Linked DNA regions of Homo sapiens: all the other regions are linked to region 4. The links are contacts of gene promoters, found by promoter capture Hi-C in blood cells and fetal thymus (Javierre and others, 2016). All regions are on one chromosome and are shown on one strand. The core of a region is centred on a gene start or on the middle of the fragment in contact, and the rest is flanking DNA. Distances in the headings are between cores, read along the strand shown.

Region 1 (3,545 bases), core at 473-2,972, 680 kb before region 4:
GTGCTTTAAAAAGCCTGGAGATTTAAGGTTTTGCCTAAATTCCAGAGTACAGTAATGTATTTATTGAGGGAGGGGTTAGGGCAGGTAATTCCCCCCATCATATTTCTGGGTGAGACAAAGAGAAGGGTAAGGATGATACCTTAGTTTTATTTTAGGAAGTATTTTTTCCTAGGATGTAACTAAGGTTTGCAGCAGTGTGAAAAGCACATTATAAAAGGGAAAAATATACAGAGCAGACTACCATATCTATGTGCAACACAATCAAAGAAGAATTCAAGTCATAATTCTTACCACTCCCATAATTATCTCACTCATATCATAGATGATAAAATTCATTCATTTCTGTGAAACTTCAGAAGTGACACAATAAATCCAATGATTAGACAAAGGTTACAATATACTATGGCCATGATACAGCACAGGGCTACGTTTAGTCCATATATTTTTCCATTTACAGTTGCCAGAAAAAATTGGCCTTTTAATTATATTATACTGATGAGGTTTGTTTTGTAATTTTTACATATTTCAAAAAAGCATACAAAACTCTGCCTATCCGGCAGAGGTGGGAGGCTTTTTTTTTATTCGGCACTTGTATTGCTGAGAATACTGTGCATGTTGTAAGCACTATTCTGTTTTTCTAGAGCTTTCTTTAGCTTTAGCTCCTCTAATTTTTTCCATAATTCTTCACGTTCCAATTCCTTCTTTTTCTCTCTGTAGATAAACCAAAATTTTTGTAATCAGAAATTATTTCAGAACCCAAAGAGAGGTGCTGTTTGACAGCTTACTGGAGAACACATTACTTACCCACATTTCACTTAAATCCCTCTGCTAAAGCTTTGGAGTCCACTTACCTGGAGCACCTAATTTCTTCTTGTCACTCTCCTAAATGTACTGAGTCTGTGCATCTCCTGTACCAGCTAGACGTTACTACTTGCTTTCTGTCCCCTACACATTATCACTACCATGACACTGTACTTTATAGTCAACAAAGTACTTACACGTCAATTTTCTCACGTAAACATCTTGCAGTTGTAGTAGTCTAATCAGTATTACAAAGGCTGAAGGGGCTGGCCACTAGGTCAGTAGGAAGCACTTCCTTCACCACACCAGACAGAAGCCACATCATTTTTGCCACTAACAGCCACATCTCTAGCCACTAACCAGTTTGTATCTTACTAGCTCCTCTTTTACATGTCAAATGAAAACTTTAGTTTCAGTAATCTTTCTCTAGAACAAAATGAAGGTCAAAATATTTCATATGTCGTTTCAACTAATTAATTTCAGTTCTAAGGAAAACATTTCTGAGTAACTTGAACCTGTCTATTCTGAAAGGCTCCATGAACATGTAAAACATAGGCTTATAATTCTGCAGTTATGAGTTAAAAGGACAAATCCTTTTAAAGGATTTGCTGATTTATGCAGGTAAGAAATGATGAGTATATTCTTAGTCATGTGAAATACATATTTTTCAAATACAAGTTTCCTATGATCCTAGTCATCTTATTTTCTTCCCATTGCTTCCTGAGGCTCAAAACATGTACTTAATTTCTATTCCTGCCTGAATGCTGCTATTTAAAGGAAATAATGCATTGAGTTAGTTATTAATGGGCTGGATGGCTTTGAAGAAAGGCTATCCATTTTCTACTTTAAGATAACCATAACTAGGAACTTGTCAAAATAGATAGCTTTTCTAAACAGAACAGGTAATATGCTTATTAGAAGTAAATGGTAACTGTTATCCTCAAATAATGGGTGGGCTCAGGTACACTGGTTACTAACCACTTAAGTTTAAGAAAGTGCTTCTTGAGTTTGAAATAAACATATGAGAAGAAAGTAACTCTTGAAAGATTATTTTATAGTAATTTATGAAATTCTCAAAAAGAGGTAATCACTAGGCCATGTTCCTAAAGGCTGATACGTGCTAACATTTATACTCTAAAATACATATTATTGCAAGGACAACATATTAATAGTACCCTAAGCCATATCATTATGTGACTTCCCTCTTCCCAAAGGAGAACTATGCTGACTTTAAAATACCACCTTCTGATAATCCACAGCGTAAGAATTACCTACTGCTAACAAAGAACACTTGAAAAGTAAAGCTCACTCTGGAAGCCCACGTGGACAAAAAGGATTTTCGTAAATGCATGGATAAAAAATCAAATTGTACAAATTGATATTTAAAATTCAGCATAAATTATATTTCATATGCAGATGCTAACAGACTGAGGAAATCTAAGGCTCAGAATGAGATAAACAGGATTTATGATCCACATTAAAATCATAATCTAACCATTTAGAGGAAGTAAATTATGTAACTACCCTCAAAAATAAATGCTACTGCTTTTTCTGCTTTAACAAATTTATAAAAATACTGGGGCTAGTTTATCTGGAAATGACTTATATGTTAAGAGACTTTCACATTGTAATGTTTACTATAAGGTAATTAACTTCTTAAATATGAAAATCTGAACTGAGAGAAGATACCTTCCTGAACTGAATCACATTCAACTAACATAAAATGTATAGATAATTTTGTAATTCAAAATATCAAATACCTCTGTCTTTCAGCTTTGTATGAGCTAGTAAGGTCATCGAAAAGCTTGCCATTCATTTCCATTAGGGTTTTCAGCACATTGTATACCAGTGCTACAATGGTCCTGAAATGAAAATGAGCCAGTCCTGAGTTATGATACTGCTAACAGAGAGGAAATGTAACACTATGGTCTCTAAAATGGGTTAAAGCTTGGCTGATTTCATTTAATCCATTTTAGAGATGATAAAACTGAGGCTCAAGAGGTTTGTAATATGCTCAAGGTCATACAGCAAGTGGTGGTAGAGACAGTCTAAGAAAACTTAAATCTTTTCCATTTTATCATGCTTACATTAAACTCTAGTTAAAAATGTTCACTATAGTTATCTTCATTTCTGCTTTACAGTCTCATGTCTGAAATCCTGAGTAACAACATTAAAAGAAGATGAAAAAGATCCAATTACCAAAACTTATGAAAAGTAGAAAGCCGGATAAGGATGTTAAAGAAGTTAGAATATATTACCCTTAGCACTTCGGCTTTCCCCTGGGACAGTGCCATTTATAGAGGGGAGACTATACACTGAGAGTAGACCAACACAACTCTGCATTAACGGAGTAGTTTGTGTATCCTCTGCAAATGTTCAGTTGGTCTCCCCAAGAGGGTTTGACCACAACCTCCAGGGAGATTTGCAATTTTAAATTGACATGAAGGCTGGGCACAGTGGTACATGCCTATAATCTCAGCACTTTGGGAGGCCAAGGTGAGATGATCACTTGAGCCCAGGAGTTTCAGTCCAGCCTGGGCAATATAGTGAGACTTCAACTGTCCAAAAAAAATAAAAATAAAAATTCGCTGGGTATGGTGGTGCACACCTGTGGTCGTAGCTACTCGGGAGGCTGAGGCAGGAGGATTGCGTGAACCCAGGAGTTTGAGGCTACGGTGAGGTATGATTGCACCATTGCACTCCAGTCTGGGCAACAGAGCAAGACTCTCTTTTTTTTTTTTTTT
Region 2 (3,166 bases), core at 575-3,074, 710 kb before region 4:
AGGTTGCTGGCCATCTCTGTCTGTACCTTGTCCCTGTGCCCTGGGTCACATGGTGTTTTGTTGTTGTCAGGCCTGGACAGCGAGTCCGCCTCCAGCAGCATCCGCTTCAGCAAGGCCTGCCTGAAGAACGTCTTCTCGGTCCTACTCATCTTCATCTACCTGCTGCTCATGGCTGTGGCCGTCTTCCTGGTCTACCGGACCATCACAGACTTTCGTGAGAAACTCAAGCACCCTGTCATGTCTGTGTCTTACAAGGAAGTGGATCGCTATGATGCCCCAGGTAGAGCCTGCCCCTGGGCCAGGCATCAGGGCCCCAGATCTAGGGTGTCAGCTGGCAGATACTCCCTGAGCTGCCGTTGTATTTGTGGTACTACGGGCAGGGCAGAGGAGTCCAACCAAGCATAGTCTAGGTATAGAGTCTATGCCCAAGGAGCTGCTGTTGGGAGTGTGTTACGTGCTGAGGACAGAAATGGACAGAGCCTGGAGCAGCTACTGCAGGCTACTAGAGGGGTCAGGGAAAGCTTGGCAGAGAGGTAGGATTTGAGATGGGCCTCGAAAAGCACATAGATGGGAAGAGAGTGTCTTTGGGATGGGGATCAGCAGAGCGAAGGGGTGTCTAGGGAGGCAGAGGGCTTCTCTGGAGAGGATGAGACTAACTTGGCTGGGGCCAGAGGGCAGGGATGAGGAGAAGCAGGAGTCAAGGCTGGACTGTGGGGTGGGGAGGATGGCAGGGGAGGCGAGGCCATTCAACCCTGCCTGGAGAGGGACTCCCAGGCCACACTGGGTATACCTGTCTCACTGGGGTGTCTGGTCCCTGAGTGGGGAGTCCACTCTGCTATAGAGCAAGCTATCTGCTCTGGGCTGCAGGGCTGGCACTGGATGTTCTAGGGGCTGTAGAGTAAATGAGGAGGCATGAGCTGTGTGACTTGGGCCCTGTCCACCCAGTGTGTGCCACCTGTTCTGCCCACAGATGCCCCTGAGTAACCTGTGGGAGGGCCTGCTCACATGGCAGAGCCAGAGTCCGGGTGCCCTCTCTCTGGGGCTTCCTGCCAGCCTCCAGCAGAGTCAGGTGTGCTGGTCATGGCTCCTCTGCCCATCTCTTCCTGTCTTGTGTTTGTCCCTCTTCTCTGTGTGTCTGCTTGAGTCTTCTTTATCTGTACGTTTTACTTTCTCTGTCTGGTGTCTTAGTGTCTCTGAAGTCTGTCTGTCTCTGATGCCATGTGCTGCTGTCTTAGCATTGCTGCCCTTGAGGCTGGACAGCTACTGTCAGTAGAGGTGCCTGGGCTGGGAAGAGGGAGGGACTCTTGGGATGTGACTTGCACACTTGGGGCTCCCAGTCTAAGAGACAAAATGAGTTCTGAGGAGTTCCACAGTTTAGAGCCTCCCAGTGATTCTGCAGGTGGGTGTTGGCCCAGAGGGGTGGCACAGGGGCTGAGTCAAGAGACACTCCTTCGGAGGGTGTGGAGCGGGGCTCTGAGGTGGAGTGGGTTTTGATGTGGGCATCAGGGCGGCTGGATCCCAGGTTGGCCAGGGGCTTACTGAGGAGGGGCTTGTGCCCTCTGCTACAGCGGGGCTTTCTGAGGCCAGGGGATGTGGCTCCTCACCCTCTGAAACCCTTTTCTTCTCCCTTCCCTGCAGTCCTCCAGGGAGTCCAGAACGTAGGTTGTTGGTAGGTGTGAGATGATTTCAGGGATGTGGTCAGGAGTGTGATTTCTGACACTTGCTTTTCCTGTTTGTGCCCCCAGGTATTGCCTTGTACCCCGGTCAGGCCCAGTTGCTCAGCTGTAAGCACCATTACGAGGTCATTCCTCCTCTGACAAGCCCTGGCCAGCCGGGTGACATGAATTGCACCACCCAGAGGATCAACTACACGGACCCCTTCTCCAATCAGACTGTGGTAATTCCTGTCTGCCTGAGCTGGGTCTGGGCAGCTGCTCTGTTAGCCCCGCAACCCAAGGCCCCAAGTTTCCTTTTTCCTAGGAGTCCTTCTTCCACTCACTCAGTGTGGGGCCTTAGTCCCCAAGGAGACATGCGGCTGTGCCATGTGGACACTTGGCTGTGGTTGGCTCACTTGCATTCAGGGAGGACAGTGAGGCCTCCAGCCTTTGCTGAGTAATGCTCAGGGATTCCTGACAGTGCGGTGAGACCCTGTCCCCAATGGAAGAATGGCAGGGCTAAAGGGTGGGGCTGGTGCGATATAGCGAAGTGGGTCCCATACCTGACCACTTGACAGAATTGCCAGGATACTTTTTGAAAATATGAATTTCTAGGTTCCATGTGAAGCCAACTGAATTATAATTCCTTAGGTGGGGCCTGAGAATCCATAGTTTGAAATTAATACGCCAGCGTAAAGGAGCGTCGGTCTGGGGACAAGGACTCCTGGGCCCTGGGCTGGCCATGCTGTCGTGCACAACACAGCACGGCTGGGAAGGATGACTGAGGGATGGGGTTAGGAGCGCCCTGGAGGAGTGGCACTGCACAGGGTTTCAAAGACAGGGTAGGCGTTTTGTATTGATTTACATCTCATCTTTTTCATTTCATATTCTTGCTTCAGAAAGCATTGAAAGGGGCTACAATAGTTTTCCAGATGAAATTGGGAAGGAAAGGTTTTCTAGGCAGAGGAAATTGCACCATGACCTAAAGGGAAGAGACGACATGTTGTACTTGTGCCTCTGGGCACAATTGCAGTTGGTGGGGAAATGTTTCATAGGGTCAGGAGCCCTGGAAGACTGATGGGTGATGAAGCTGTGGACAGAGTAATGGCCAGATGAGAAAAGAACATGCATCGTGCTGTAGAGCCACACTTGCTCCCTTGGGTAACAGGGAACTGTTAGTGGGTTTTAAGATGAAAGAATAACACTAATTTTTTTTTTGTTAGTATGTGAACGCTAGGCCCCCTCCTAAAATCCTGCTAAAATGATTCTCTAAGGAATGAGATAGAACAGACTAGAACATCAATAATAGCTTTGCACGTGAAGAAAGGATATCACCAGTGGACCAGACATTTTGAGGAACTGGTATAAAGCATAAAAAACAGCTTGGGCCAGATTGGTGGAGCAAACAAATTAGAGCAAATCCCTAACCCAAAACAGATGAAGGAGAGACCTGTTGTAGAGGTACAAGCTTTCCTTCCAAACCCCCAGCTTGGAATCAGCACCGTTAGAGA
Region 3 (3,643 bases), core at 803-3,302, 800 kb before region 4:
CCGGGAGTGAGATGTGGCGGTGTCTGGAAGGACAGAGCAAGAAGAGCAGGTCTGGGGTTTCCCAGGCCAGATGCTTGTCTACCCTCTACTGCTCTCTAGTGGCCAGAGTCCAGAAGCCGGGCAAGCCTTTCAGCTTTCCTCCTCAGAATAATGTCAGAGCAAGTGGGAGCACAGAGGAGAAGCTCCCGGCTCTACAGGTCAGAGGACACAGTGCTTCCACTGAGCGTCATAAGTCTTTATAATGGGGCCAGACCAGCTGGCAGGGCTGTGACAGGCAAGGTGCAGGGAATGACATGGGCAAAACCATGGAGACTTGAGATTATATTGCACCGTCAGAGAATGCAAATTATTTGGTAGGACCAGAAGCTAGGGTGTGAAGAGGGTGGTGAAGAATGGGCCTGAGACCAGTGGAACAGAACAGAAGCCTCAGAAATAACACCACACATCTACAACCGTCTGATCTTTAACAAACCTGAAAAATAAAAAAGAAATGGGGAAAGGATTCCCTATTTAATAAATGGTGCTGGGAAAACTGGCTAATCATATGTACAAAGCTGAAACTGGATCCTTTCCTTACACCTTACACAAAAATTAATTCAAGATGGATTAAAGACTTAAATGTAAGGCCTAAAACCATAAAAACCCTAGAAGAAAACCTAGGCAATACCATTCAGGATATAGGCATGGGCAAGGATTTCATGACTAAAACACCAAAAGCAATGGCAACAAAAGCCAAAATAGACAAATGGGATCTAATTAAACTAAAGAGCTTCTGCACAGCAAAAGAAACTACCATCTGAGTGAACAGGCAACCTACAGAATGGGAGAAAATTTTTGCAATCTACCCATCTGACAATGGGCTAATATCCAGAATCTACAAAGAACTTAAACAAATTTATGAGAAAAAAAAAACCCCATCAAAAAGTGGGCAAAGGATATGGAACAGATACGTCTCAAAAGAAGACATTTATGTGGCCAACACGCAGGAAAAAATGCTCATCATCACTGGTCATTAGAGAAATGCAAATCAAAACCACAATGAGATACCATCTCACGCCAGTTAGTATGGCGATCATTAAAAAGTCAGGAAACAACAGATGAGATGCTGGAGAGGATGTGGAGAAATAGGAATGCTTTTACACTGTTGGTGTAAATCAGTTCAACCATTGTGGAAGACAGTGTGGCAATTCCTCAAGGATCTAGAACTTGAAAGACCATTTGACCCAGCAATCTCATTACTGGGTATATACCCAAAGGATTATAAATCATGCTACTATAAAGACACATGCACACGTATGTTTATTGTGGCACTATTCACAATAGCAAAGACTTGGAGCCAACCCAAATGTCCATCAATGATAGACTGGTTAAAGAAAATGTGGCACATATACACCATGGAATACTATGCAGCCATGAAAAAGAATGAGTTCATGTCCTTTGCAGGGACATGGATGAAGCTGGAAACCATCATTCTCAGCAAACTATCACAAGGACAGAAAACCAAACACCGCATGTTCTCACTCATAGGTGGGAACTCAACAATGAGAACACTTGGACACAGGGCGGGGGAACATCACACACCAGGGCCTGTCAGGGGGTTGGGGGCTGGGGGAGGGATAGCATTAGGAGATATACCGAATGTAAATGACAAGTTGATGGGTGCAGCAAACCAATATGGTACATGTATACCTATGTAGCAAACCTGCACGTTGTGCACATGTACCTTAGAACTTAAAGTATAATAAAAAATAAATAAATAAAAAAGAAGAAGAGTGGGTTTGAGAGATGGCCTGAGGCTTTGCCTAGAAGGGAGTTTGGAATGCATCATAGACCATTGAAAGCCTTCCAAGGGTTTAAGCAGGGGCATAATATAGGGATTCCTCCTAGAAAGAAACATTCTCAAATTTGCACTTTAGAAAGATCATTTTAGCAAGAGTGTGGAGTATGGAATAGAGAGTCTAGTAGCTGAGGCCCTGCCCTCAGCTAAGCAATGTCAGTGGGGACAGAGAAAAGAGAACCCATTCATCCTTTATTCATTCATCTAAGACATATGCCAGGCTTGCTGGAATTGCAAAGCTGCGCCCAGAAACCCACATTCTCCCCTTTCTGCACAATGTGGAAGAAAGCCACGGACCTGCCCACATACTTGGAGCCCCAAAATCTTGACCGTCGCTGGCAAGAGTTGGAGCCTGATTTGTGTGGGCAGTTCAGCTGCTTTATTTTTTTAGCATTGATAACTGGCATACTGATTAGGTAACAACTCTTAAGAATTGAATAGTACTACATCGCCATTTTATAGGAATAAGGAAATTGAGGCATAGCAAGGCAGGTTCCACCCAAGGCCAGCTGGCTCCTGAGTCTATCCTCTTAACCATTCGCTATTCCTTCCTCTTTGTGCTGATCACACAGCAATGCTCAGGATGCTCAGAACAGCTTTGGGGAGTGTTTTGCCTCTAATGTCCTCATCTTGTTCTCTAGCCTCATTCAACCTGTTTCCTGTTCCCTGGAAGTCATTTTATGGCTAAATAAATCCCAACGAAATGTTAACTCTGAAGACAGGCACCTCCTGCCTTCTCCCCTGGACCCCCTTTCTGCTTGGAGTCCTGGTGTTTGCCATAGTGTCTGTATTTTCAGAAGGTTAATGGGTGCAGGATCCCACATTAGGACTTACAGGGAGGGCTCAGCCTCTGACCTCAGAAAATTCAGGTCCCAGGGGGAGTCAAGACAGATGAACTATTCAGTCTGTTCGTTATTCTAGCTATCAGCATCTTCAGCTAACCTGGTGTTTTTTAATGTAGTTTGAGAGTCTCTAAATTGATTTCATGACCCACTAACTAGCATCTCAAATCACATTTTATTTAAATGAAATTGAATGAAATACAAAACATGAAGTGTATTGCATATAGTACAATTAATAATTGTTTCAAGAAAATTTCTGTTTTAGTTGTGTGTATCTGAGTGTATATGTGTGTGTGTGTGTGTGTACACACTTGATTACAATATAAAATACATTTCTTACTGTGAGTCCAGTCAAAAAGTTAAAGCACCACATATCTTAATATTTTCTCCCTCTGGCTTCACAATAATTGTTTGCAGCAGTTTTACAACCTATGGTTTGTTCAAGGAAATACGAAAAAAGAGTTTTGATCCGCGGACCTGTGAAGGAGCAGAGGAGCCAGGCTGAGCCAGCACATGAGGGAAGCCCTTGGATCCAGACACTGCAGCAGAGCTAGGGCTGGCCAAAGGGCTGCATGGACAATAACTGGCTCACACTGAGGGCCCCGCTCCTCACCTGCCTATCTTAAGCCACCTGTTCTCTCTCTCTCTCTCTCTCTCTCTCTTTTTCTTTAAATACAGATGGCGTCTCGCTATGTTGCCCAGGTTGGTCTCAAAACTCCTGACCTCAAGCGATCCTCTCACCTCAGCCAACCAAAGTGCTGGGATTACAGGCATGAGTCACTGCACCTGGCCCAGTCACCTGTTCATGAAAACCCCAAGGCTCGCTGCTACCCAACCCGAGGTCAAGACTGGCCAGAAGGTGTGCAGATACCCTCTCGCCTATTCAGCTGTTGCCTACTGAAGCCTGATCTGCAGCTCCCACTGCACCGCTCAGGCAGCCAAATGGGGAGGAAAAACCACAGAG
Region 4 (3,255 bases), core at 370-2,869:
ACTCTCAAGATAACCCACTCCTGTGATTACGTTAATCCATTCGTGAGGGGTAGCCCTCATAACCCAATCAATTTAAAGGTCTCACCTCTTAACACTTTTGCATTAAGAATAGTTTCCAACACATGAACTTTGGGGGATACATTCAAACCACAGCAAGCTCTATGGATACCAATCTGTAAGAGGCACAAAAATAAAAAAATGATGCTAATTAACACAGCCACTTGCAGTGCCTTACATAACTTTTGAAACCTAAATTGGTCCTATTCCCCTGAGGTAAGACAGTGCCCTTGAATGTTAATTTAAAAATTCTCCTGGTTGGCAATTCCAATTATCTTATGTTATATTCAGGGCATGTAATAAGTCCCTTATTTTTACATAAAGAGCTTTTAAATTCTTATTAATAGAAAATCAGGTGTCTTTTAATCCTTTGCTGAACAGATATTTAAAGAAAACTGGCCTGTTCATGCATTTCCAAATTATTAGCTTTCTGGTAATTTACATATTCCTCTAACAAGCCCTGGATGGAGGCCTCTAAGTCCTCCTTCCCTGGTAAACATGGGGCTGTTCATTTGGCTGGGTAAGCTGAGAACGTTGGTGTGTGGGTGCGTAAAAGAGAATCTGTGTTCAATGAAGTATTGTCGATAGGGTTAATTGTGTATTTGGCACACATAAACGGGACAAGACGTGTAAAGTACTTGGTAGGAGAGCGACAGTATTTCTCCTTTTTTTTTTTTTTTTGGAGACTGGGTGTCACTCTGTCGCCCAGGCTGGAGTGCAGTGGCGCACGGCTCACTGTAACCTCTGCCTCCCAGGTTCAAGCAATTCCTCATGCCTCAGCCTCCCAAGAAGCTGGGATTACAGGCCTGCAACCCCATGCTCTGTTACTTTTTTTTTTTTTTTTTTCATTTTTAGTAGAGACGGGGTTTCGCCATGTTGGCCAGGCTGGTCTTGAACTCTTGGCCTCGAGCAATCCGCCCGCCTCGGCCTCCCAAAGTGCTAGGATTATAGGCGTGAGCCACAGCGCCCGGCCTAATTTTCGTATTTTCAGTAGAGACGAGGTTTGCCCTGTTGCCCAGGCTGGTCTGAACTCCTGGGCTCAAGCGACCCACCCACCTCGGCTTCCCAAAGTGCTAGGGTTACGGGCGAGCGTGAGTCACCGCGCCCACCCGGGAGTCTGTATTTCTAATTTGTATTCAGCTCTCAGCATATCCTCAACGTGACCCCACCCAGGTTCAGGGTACTGGAACCTGAGCGAGGAATGCGTGTGCCGGGGAGAGTAGGTAGTGTGAGGGGCCAGAGTGCAAAGGTCAGAAGGCATCTGGTGGAAGCGGTGTGCAAAGAAGCCTGAGGGGAGGACCTTAGATCTCGGTTACCTTGGCGATCTCTATCAGAGGGTTAGAGTTGCCGAGAGGCGCCAGCTGCCGCTTCCTCTCTCCCGCCCTCCGTTTGGCTTAGCTCGCCGGGTTCTCCCACAGGTTAAAAGCAGACGCCGACGCGGTTGCCTAGTGACACTTTTCCCAAAATGCCTAGGGTATTGTTGTGTTCTTCTTAGCCAATGAGAGAGGCGAAGCGGCCCACCGCCTGCCAATAGACTGCGAGATCAGGGCCCGCGACGGTTAAACGGGGCCCAAGGCAGGGGTGGCGGGTCAGTGCTGCTCGGGGGCTTCTCCATCCAGGTCCCTGGAGTTCCTGGTCCCTGGAGCTCCGCACTTGGCGGCGCAACCTGCGTGAGGCAGCGCGACTCTGGCGACTGGCCGGCCATGCCTTCCCGGGCTGAGGACTATGAAGTGTTGTACACCATTGGCACAGGCTCCTACGGCCGCTGCCAGAAGATCCGGAGGAAGAGTGATGGCAAGGTGAGCGTGGGACCTACCCTGCGCCTGCCCCTGCTTAGGTTTCGTCGCCTCGGGGCGAGCGCCCTGCGCCACCGAAGGGAACCGACAGGGCTGAGGAAATGGGTGCCCGGAAGACTAAACCGTCTTTCCTGGGTCTGCATCTGACAGCCTGTCCTGGGTGGCTTAAAGGATGGGAGACCGCTTCTTTTGATATATGTATTTCCATCTTTTCCCGTTTCTCTCCCCATTTCTCTCTTTCTCCTGCTTTGGCTTGCTAAGGACCTTCCATTGGTGACAGGTAACTAATTCCTGAGCTGTTTTTAGAGCTCTAAGAGTGGCCCTCTCAGGCACAAGAAAGGGGCAGGACTACCAGAACCCGAAGCTTTGTATCTGCAGTCAGACTCCCTCAAAATATCCATTATTAGGATTATTGGATTCATATTTCCCAATGTATATAGGTAGAACTTTTACAGAAAGTAACATTGGACAGGAAACTGCCTGGCTGCTGATGGAGGGATCTTTACCAAGGTGTCTCATCCTGGGAAAACACGACTGGGGTGGAATGGGGCAGGGACTTTGACCACCTTCACCCCAATTTTGACTATAGTACCTTTTAGCCAACTTCCCACTAACCAACTGAGGGTAGGGGTTGGGGGAGTCCTCATGTGCCTCATTCCCGTTTGTCTCCCCACAACATACATTTACTGCTTAGAACTGGAGGAAGATTATGGAAGTAAACTCACAGCTCCTTAAGTTCATTGAACTAAATTAGATAATGACCTTGATTGTAGGATATAATTAAAAGGGAGGTAATTTGTTAAATCTTGGAACTTTCATTCTTTGTTTTTGAGCATAATGAGTTCATTCATACCTTGGAAATTCTTATTTCAGATATTAGTTTGGAAAGAACTTGACTATGGCTCCATGACAGAAGCTGAGAAACAGATGCTTGTTTCTGAAGTGAATTTGCTTCGTGAACTGAAACATCCAAACATCGTTCGTTACTATGATCGGATTATTGACCGGACCAATACAACACTGTACATTGTAATGGAATATTGTGAAGGAGGGGATCTGGCTAGTGTAATTACAAAGGGAACCAAGGAAAGGTAAGCATAATCTTTTAAAAATGTAAGCTGAAATTGGTCTAGTTTCATTTATTTTAAGCATCTTGTTTTAGGATCAGTAATATGGAAGAGTGTATTTGTATTTGTTTGGTAGGTCCACAGTACTTTAGAAAATTCCTGGTGAATCAACACCCATATTTTATATCAAAATAACAATTTATAGGCTGAGTGTGGTGGCTCACACCTGTAATCCCAACACTTTGGGAGGCCGATGCGGGAGGATCACTTGAGCCCAGGATTTCAAGACCAGCCTGGGCAACATAGTGGGACCCTGTTTCTACAAAAATTAGCCA
Region 5 (3,594 bases), core at 113-2,612, 760 kb before region 4:
CGCGGGGCCCACCATGGTGAGCGCGCAGCGCAAGGCAAGGCCGGGCCAGGGCGGCGGGGCCCTAGCACGCCCGCCCAGCGTCCCGGAGTCCCGCCCCGCGCCCAGAGCCTCCCCGAGGGCGGGGACCCGAGAACTCCCGCCCTTCGCGCGCCTCCTGCGCCCCGGGGTGGGGCTGGCCGGGCTACTCGGGCCACGCAGCTGGAACCTGGAAATTAGGATTGGAATCCTGAACTCCTAAATCCAAACTACAGACTGGAAGTTACCAAAAAATGTCACAGTGGTTCCTTGATCAGGTAGAAAGATGACAGAGCCCAACATACCAGAACCTAGAAAGGTATATTTCTAAAATAAGACCCCAACTGTCTTAATTCGCTTTTATTTTTGGCTGATTTTTTTTCTTCCTGGTTGTGTTTAAGTTTCTGGTTCCCAAGGAGATTTTTGCAAAGGGTAGGGTGCTGTTACCGATACGCCCTGAAATAATAATAGCTAACATTTGTGCCAAACTTTGCTCATTACTTTATGCAACAAATATTTTTGAGTACCTCCATGTACCAGGTCACTGGGGACTCACCACTGAACAAGACAGATCCACGCCCACGTGAAGCTTACATTGTGTGGGCAGATAGACAATAAGATGCTAAGTAGTATGTTAGATGGTGGTAAATACTAGGGAGAAAAAGTAGGGCAAAGAGATAGGGAGCACTGGGATGGACATTTTATTTTATTTTATTGTTATGTATTTATTTATTTTTGAGACGGAGTCTGTCGCCTACGCTGGAGTGCAGTGGCGCCATCTCGGCCCACTGCAACCTCCACCTTCCGGGTTCAAGTGATTCTCCTGCCTCAGCCACCAGAGTAGTTGGGATTACAGGCACCCACCACCACGCCTGGCTAATTTTTTTTTTTTTTAATTTTTAGTCGAGATGAGGTTTCACTATATGCTGGCCAGGCTGGTCTCGAACTCCTGGCCTCAAGTGAACCATCCACCTCATCCACCCAAAGTGCTGGGATTACAGGTGTGAGGAACGGTGCCCGGTTATGGGGATGGTCATTTTAAATAGGCAGGTTAGGGAAGGCCTCACTGAGAACAGGGTATTTGCATAAAAATCTACAGGAGGCGAAGGAGGCGGTCTAGAGGGAAGAGCACTTTGGTCAAAGGATCAGGTGCATAAATGCGGAGGAATGAGGATGCCCGGCTTGCTGGAGGATCAAGGGAAGGTAAGAGGGGTAGGTGAAGTCAGGAAGGAAGCGGGTAAGGGAGTGGGGGTGGATCTTGGGGGCTTCACAGGTTATTTTCAAGACTGGCTTTTACTTTCAAGACTGGAATAGAGGAATTAACAGAAAAAGGGTCTCATTCCAGACCCAAGAGCAGGTTCTTAGACGTCCACGGCAAAGAATCAGGGCAAGTCGCAGAGCATAGTAGTTAAAATAGTTCATTAGAAACTACTCCATTTCTAATAATAGTACTACTGTGTTTCTGAGTAGTATCCTTGCTTTGAAGTAGTACTAAGCAAGTATTGTTTATATAGGAGCACCTCTGCCTTCAATGTAATGCTTGCTTTTATAGGGCTAAAACTAGCGTACTTCATTACAAAAGCCTATGATCAGCTTGTTACAGACTATTAGTATTGTTATTCTCTTGTGTAACTATTGACTTCAGGGAGAATTTATGGGTGTACTGTTATCTTTAAAGTGAAACTCATTTTTAAACTAAGAATGCCTTTTTCCATTATCTCATTTCCTCAACCATAAACATCTTGTGAAGAGTGCCTATCTTCCTGGGAAAGTCGCCCAGCAGGTTTGGCTTTATCTGACCTTTATTCAAGATGGAATCACTCTGGTTAGGACACTTCTGACATAATTCCCTCCTCCTTTTTACAAGGAGACCTTTAATCCTAAGGGGTGCAGGGGGACAGAGATCCATCTTCAGTAACTTCAAGCTGAACAGAAGCGATGATATTCCTGCCTAACCATTAGGATCCCTTTGCCCAAAGTAGAGAGCTAGCCAGTCAGAAAGCATCTGTATAGTGAGGACCAATCATACATAATTCTAAGTCCCAGAAAAAGGTGAAATCTAGAAAATTAACGTGTTAAATTTAAAGAAGCATTGAATAAGCTTAACTCTTATTCCTACATAAAAAGTACAATGCAGTATATTCCACAGCACAAAACAGAATGAATAGAATTATCCCAAGCATGCTAAACAAAAAAAGTTTCCCAAGGACTAGGCAGTTGTTAGAACCAAGCTGATATGGGGTCAACTGACAGCGTGTCAATGGCAGAGATGTGGGTGTCTAAGTCTTTTGTGGCCTGAGTAACATTATGTGAATAGTCTGGAATGTATGCATAACATTCTGTTTTGATTATAGCATAAGTTCCCCCTTTGAGCTGCTGTTAACATGTCCAGAGCCATAGTTTCATAAGGCTATCTGTCTAATTTGAGATGTTTCTTCAGTCAAGAGGGTAAGGGCATGGCGTGTATTATTGAAAACTGCAGCTGTGTTTAGCTATGGCTTTGGCTTGAAGCTCAATGTCAATTGTGGCTGCCTGTGGGGAGAAGACAGTGTCAGGCCTCTGAGCTGAAGCTCAGCCATTGTAACCCTTGTGACCTGCACCTATAAGTCCAGATGGCCTGCAGGAGCCAAGAAGTCTGGAGCAGCCAAAAAAACACAAAAGAAGTGCAACAAAAGAAGCTCCTGCCTTGACTGATTGACCAGCCTTACGACGTTCCACCATTATGAATTGTTCCTGTCCTGCCCCAACTGATCAATCGACCTTGTGACATTCTTCTTCTGGACAATGAATCTTATGATCTCCCCACCATGGACCCTGTGACCCCCTCCTCTGCTGACAATAGATAACCACCTCTAACTGTAACATTCCACTGCCTACCTCAGTCCTATAAAGCTGCCCCTCTCCTATCTACCTTCGCTGACTCTCTTTTCGTACTCAGCCCACTTGCACCCAAGTGAATAAACAGCCCTGTTGCTCACACAAAGCCTGTTTAGGTGGTCTTCTATACGGACACATGTGACAGATAGCCAATGGGTAAAACAACCAAGAAGACTGCTTTTGTCACTTATGACGAGCTTTTACAGTTTCCCAGTTAGATGGGAGAGATTATAATTTAGTGAGGATACATCCTGGGAGATGAAGATGACCCTATGTACATCTTCCAGTCCAATTATAAGGCACATATGGCCAGCCATGTGACCCACATGCCCATAATCAACCCCAAGGAGAAGTACAAGCACCTAGCCATAAAGACTCATTTTGCCATCCCATCCACGTTTGGCTAGTTACAAGAAGGGTGCAATTATAGTGTTGGGGTAGTAACCATTCCATGTTACAGGTTTCAGTGTAGTAATCACTGCTATTGTCTTTCAAAGCATAGGGGCACTCTGCCTAATACCTGAACTTAGACAGCTGTCATCCATTCATCGTGTACAGTATAACCTTACGTCAGAGTGGAGTTTAATTTTCTGATCAAACAAAAAAGAGGCTTCTTTGTTTCACGGTGGGAAGGGAAAGGGCTGGGCCCTGTGTTTCTGTAGTAGAAGGGAAAAAGGGTGGTCCATTTACCCCAATCATAAT
Region 6 (3,590 bases), core at 1,068-3,567, 650 kb before region 4:
TTTACTTATCTAATTATCTCTGTCTTTCTCTCTCTCTACTTCTCTTTCTCTTTCTAGTATCTAATACAATGCCTGGCATATAATAGGCACTCAAAAAATGGGCCGGTGTGGTGGCTCATGCCTGTAATCCCAGCACTTTGGAAGGCTGAGGCAGGCGGATGACTTGAGGTCAGGAGTTCAAGACCAGCCTAGCCAAATGGTGAAACCCCATCTCTACTAAAAATACAAAAATTAGCCAAACGTGGTGGCGGGCGCCTGTAATCCCAGCTACTGGGAAGGCTGAGGAAGGAGAATCACTGGAACGCAGGAGGTGGGGGTTGCAATGAGCCGAGATAGCGCCACTGCACTCCAGCCTGGGCCACAGAGTGAGACTCAAGTCTCGATTTAAAAAGTTTATTGTTTTATATTCTACTTATTACAAAAATATGGACACACTGTATTGATTTGATTCTAACAAATGTTAAATCCTTTTGTTTCTAACCTTCAAAACCATAAAACTTCACTTCCGAACTTTCATTCTATAAACAAGGAATTCAATTAGTTCAATCACTTAAGTTTACTGAACTTCTGAAAGTAAATTTTAAAAATCATATTCAACTCTGATATTTATCTCATAATATACAAAACTATGCCTCTATTCAAAACCAGTACATACTTTATATAAAGATACAGGCAGAAATCTTCATAAAGATGATAACCTAATCAAGAATGCCTATGCTTCGTAATTACTCCAGGGCAGGAAGCTAGTAAAATTACCTTTCAATTATATTCAAGTTGCTGTCCTTAAAAAAGCTGATTTAGATAAGGTACTGCTGAACCGTAGTAGGTCAGGTATTCTAAGCATGCTCACACAAAGTCACAAGACATAAGGCACATTCTTTTCATTGATCAATTATTATTAAATAATTTTACAATAAAACAAATGTGGATATATTACAAAGAACAGCAAAAGTCACATGATTTTTGAAGTAAAAATATGAAGACTTGAATTTGCTGCAGTTCATTTGTGGCTATGCCAGTAAAATAAGATAGCTCCACACTTACAAAGAACTTGTATTAACATTTCCTGTTCCAGAATCAATAATGACTCTCTGCTTTATGAAGGTTAAAGTCTATAAGCCTAAGATTGGCATTCAGAATCCATGTAATATTGACATATATGACATTTTTTACTACCAATTTGGTAAAGTTTTTGATTCAGGGTCACTTTTTTTTTGAGACGGAGTCTCACTCTACTGCCCAGGCTAGAGTGTGGTGGCGCGATCTTGGCTCACTGCAACCCCTGCCTCCCAGGTTCATGCAATTTTCCTGCCTCAGCCTCCCAAGTAGCTGGGATTACAGGCCTGCACCACCACGCCCAGCTAATTTTTGTATTTTTTTTAATAGAGATGAAGTTTCACCATGTTGGCCAGCCTGGCCTCAAACTCCTGACCTCAAATGATCCGCCTGCCTCGGCCTCCCAAAGTGCTGGGATTACAGGTGTGAGCCACCTCACCCTGATTCAGGATCACCTTTTATGGAACTGTTCTTAAGTGGGAATATTTTTATGTATCCTTAAAAAAAAAAAAAACATTGAATTTGCAACTATTTTTAATACTAAGTAATATGCTAAACAGTTATCTTTATCCCAGAATTAAAATTCATTCTATTGGGGGTGAAAATGAACCACTAGCCAACATACATGCTACACATAACCAGCAGTCTTATGTTTACTACCTTTTTTTAATCCCAAAATGGCCATTAGTCATTCTAAGCAGAATCTGCTTCTTCTCTGTAAAATCAGTTGTATCTTGAATGGCCCTTTTCTTAAATCTTCTGGGGCTTTTTACCCTTAAAGTTAAAATGGTTATGTGCATTTAATTTTCATTAATAAATGATGTCTGCTAATAATTTATTTCAACTAACAAAAAGATGTCTGCTTGATATTGGTACTTAGTTTGAAAATTAGAAGATGGACACCTCTGCTTATGTATGTACTACACACTAAACGAGATACATGTTGACTATGTGGGCTATAAGAATCCTTCTCAATCCATAGTGTACAGGAAATCCCCATAGTTCTCTCAGTTATTCAGTAATATCTTTATACAGTTATCTATTTTCAAAGATATCTATATCCCTAATATATGGCTTTATTTTATAATATATATCTTTATAATTAATATAAATTCCATAATGATGACTTGGTGAAACAGTTGCCATATCTTGAGAGGCTGCGTTCTAAAAGAGTTTTAAGATATATTTTAGCCCTTTTTCCCTAACGCTAATAGTAATACAAACTCACACAAGATCCCACTTCAATTATGTGATCACCTTATACCGCCAGTCCTATTCTCTCCTTCCTCCCACTACCACCTCCTCAATGTGAATGAAACCAGCCCTCTTATTCTCTGAAGGCCGTGTCTTTGTTCAAAGTCTTTTCCCTACCTGAAATACTTCACTAGATTTCCTCCCCTATCTTTCCATATCCTACTTGCCCTTTAAGAACAAACTTAATCTCACATTCTCCACAAAATTTCCCTTAGGTAGGTCAGGATACAATGATCTCTCCCATCTCTCATGATCTATAGTGTTCACAACTTCAATTACGTATTTGAGTACCCATTATCTTTAGGCCTATATTCAACAGATGTTTCTTTCATCAACCACCAAAAGATTTCAGGCTCCTCAAGGGGAAGGATTATTCACTGAGCAGGGTTTCCTTTTTATTTCTTTTTTATCTAGGGTAGGGTATATAAGGAGTTAATAAATATTTATTTGATGCTTGAAAAAACTCTGAATTTGAAGAATAAGATACTGCACTGAAATACAGTCTACTGAACAAGGAGAAGTTCAAAATTGGTGCTGGATATCAACAGCGACATAAATAATGAATTATTACAACATGGCTATGTTTAAGAATTAATCATGCCAGGTGCGGTGGCTCATGCTTGTAATCCCAGCACTTTGGGAGGCCGAGGTGGGTGGATCACAAGGTAAGAAGATCAAGACCATCCTAGCTAACATGGTGAAACCCTGTCTCTACTAAAAGTAACAAAAAATTAGCCGGGCATGGTGGCAGGCACCTGTAGTCCCAGCTACTCAGGAGGCTGAGGCAGAAGAATGGCGTGAACCCGGGAGGCAGAGCTTGCAGTGAGCCCAGATTGTGCCACTGCACTCCAGCCTGGGGGACAGAGCAAGAAGACTCTGTCTCAAAAAAAAAAAAAAAATTAATCATAATGACCATTTTTATCAACAATCTACCTTGATGGTAGAATTAAATGGATTGAGATAACAATCATGAAGATGAGTGCATATATTTCAAGGTGAAATACAAATGGAAAGTATGTTTTTCTAACACTACAGGCTAAGTAGCCTGTGGCCAGCAAAAAAGAAGACACAAAATGACTTTCAGGATTGGAAAATACAGTCATGCGCCACATAACAAAGTTTTGTCAACAACAGACTGCTTATGTGATGGTGGTCCCATATAAACCTATTTTTACTGTACCTTTTCTTGTTTAGACACACATACACTTCCTTTTGCAAACTGCCTACAGTATTCAGAACAGTAACATGCTGTACAGGTTTGTACACAGCCTAGATGTGTA

The links. The method cuts DNA at HindIII sites, captures the fragments that hold promoters and counts their contacts. A CHiCAGO score of 5 or more calls a contact.
Region 1: a contact is called between a fragment that was not itself captured here and the fragment with the promoter of NEK2 in region 4, in 6 of 17 cell types (total CD8 T cells, erythroblasts, naive CD8 T cells and 3 more). The highest score is 6.2, in total CD8 T cells.
Region 2: a fragment that was not itself captured here is called in contact with the fragment with the promoter of NEK2 in region 4 in 1 of 17 cell types (total CD8 T cells); the score reaches 5.1 in total CD8 T cells.
Region 3: a contact is called between a fragment that was not itself captured here and the fragment with the promoter of NEK2 in region 4, in 2 of 17 cell types (naive CD4 T cells and non-activated CD4 T cells). The highest score is 6.0, in naive CD4 T cells.
Region 5: a contact is called between a fragment that was not itself captured here and the fragment with the promoter of NEK2 in region 4, in 11 of 17 cell types (non-activated CD4 T cells, fetal thymus, naive CD8 T cells and 8 more). The highest score is 12.9, in non-activated CD4 T cells.
Region 6: a contact is called between a fragment that was not itself captured here and the fragment with the promoter of NEK2 in region 4, in 1 of 17 cell types (fetal thymus). The highest score is 5.8, in fetal thymus.

Annotation. Positions count from the first base shown.
Region 1 is chr1:212,357,804-212,361,348 of GRCh38, reverse strand. It overlaps PPP2R5A (protein phosphatase 2 regulatory subunit B'alpha), which reads right to left. Exons shown (of 13, transcript NM_006243.4): 12 at 2,562-2,663; 13 at 1-711. The coding sequence ends at 579. Among named protein-coding and RNA genes, the nearest start is that of SNORA16B, 6.8 kb to the right of the region's middle. The HindIII fragment of the contact is 1,771 bases long and covers 837-2,607 here.
Region 2 is chr1:212,384,005-212,387,170 of GRCh38, reverse strand. PACC1 (proton activated chloride channel 1) reads left to right here. Exons shown (of 8, transcript NM_018252.3): 3 at 71-280; 4 at 1,746-1,897. Among named protein-coding and RNA genes, the nearest start is that of PACC1, 29 kb to the left of the region's middle. RefSeq lists a silencer at 1,905-2,088. The HindIII fragment of the contact is 2,602 bases long and covers 524-3,125 here.
Region 3 is chr1:212,473,783-212,477,425 of GRCh38, reverse strand. No RefSeq gene overlaps it. Among named protein-coding and RNA genes, the nearest start is that of LINC02771, 2.7 kb to the right of the region's middle. The HindIII fragment of the contact is 9,575 bases long and covers 1-3,643 here.
Region 4 is chr1:211,673,985-211,677,239 of GRCh38, reverse strand. NEK2 (NIMA related kinase 2) reads left to right here and starts at 1,619. Exons shown (of 8, transcript NM_002497.4): 1 at 1,619-1,856; 2 at 2,727-2,944. The coding sequence starts at 1,761. It overlaps NEK2-DT (NEK2 divergent transcript), which reads right to left and starts at 1,478. Exons shown (of 4, transcript NR_148994.1): 1 at 1,374-1,478; 2 at 86-173. RefSeq lists enhancers at 1,339-1,633, 1,656-1,915. The HindIII fragment of the contact is 3,147 bases long and covers 1-2,219 here.
Region 5 is chr1:212,429,365-212,432,958 of GRCh38, reverse strand. LOC105372906 (a long non-coding RNA gene) reads left to right here and starts at 142. Exons shown (of 3, transcript XR_922577.4): 1 at 142-334; 2 at 1,115-1,218; 3 at 2,628-2,998. It overlaps NENF (neudesin neurotrophic factor), which reads right to left and starts at 39. Exons shown (of 4, transcript NM_013349.5): 1 at 1-39. The coding sequence starts at 15. RefSeq lists a silencer at 1-253 and a cis regulatory region at 1,677-1,964. The HindIII fragment of the contact is 1,512 bases long and covers 607-2,118 here.
Region 6 is chr1:212,324,223-212,327,812 of GRCh38, reverse strand. The region is part of intron 1 of PPP2R5A (protein phosphatase 2 regulatory subunit B'alpha); the gene reads right to left. Among named protein-coding and RNA genes, the nearest start is that of SNORA16B, 27 kb to the left of the region's middle. The HindIII fragment of the contact is 5,536 bases long and covers 1-3,590 here.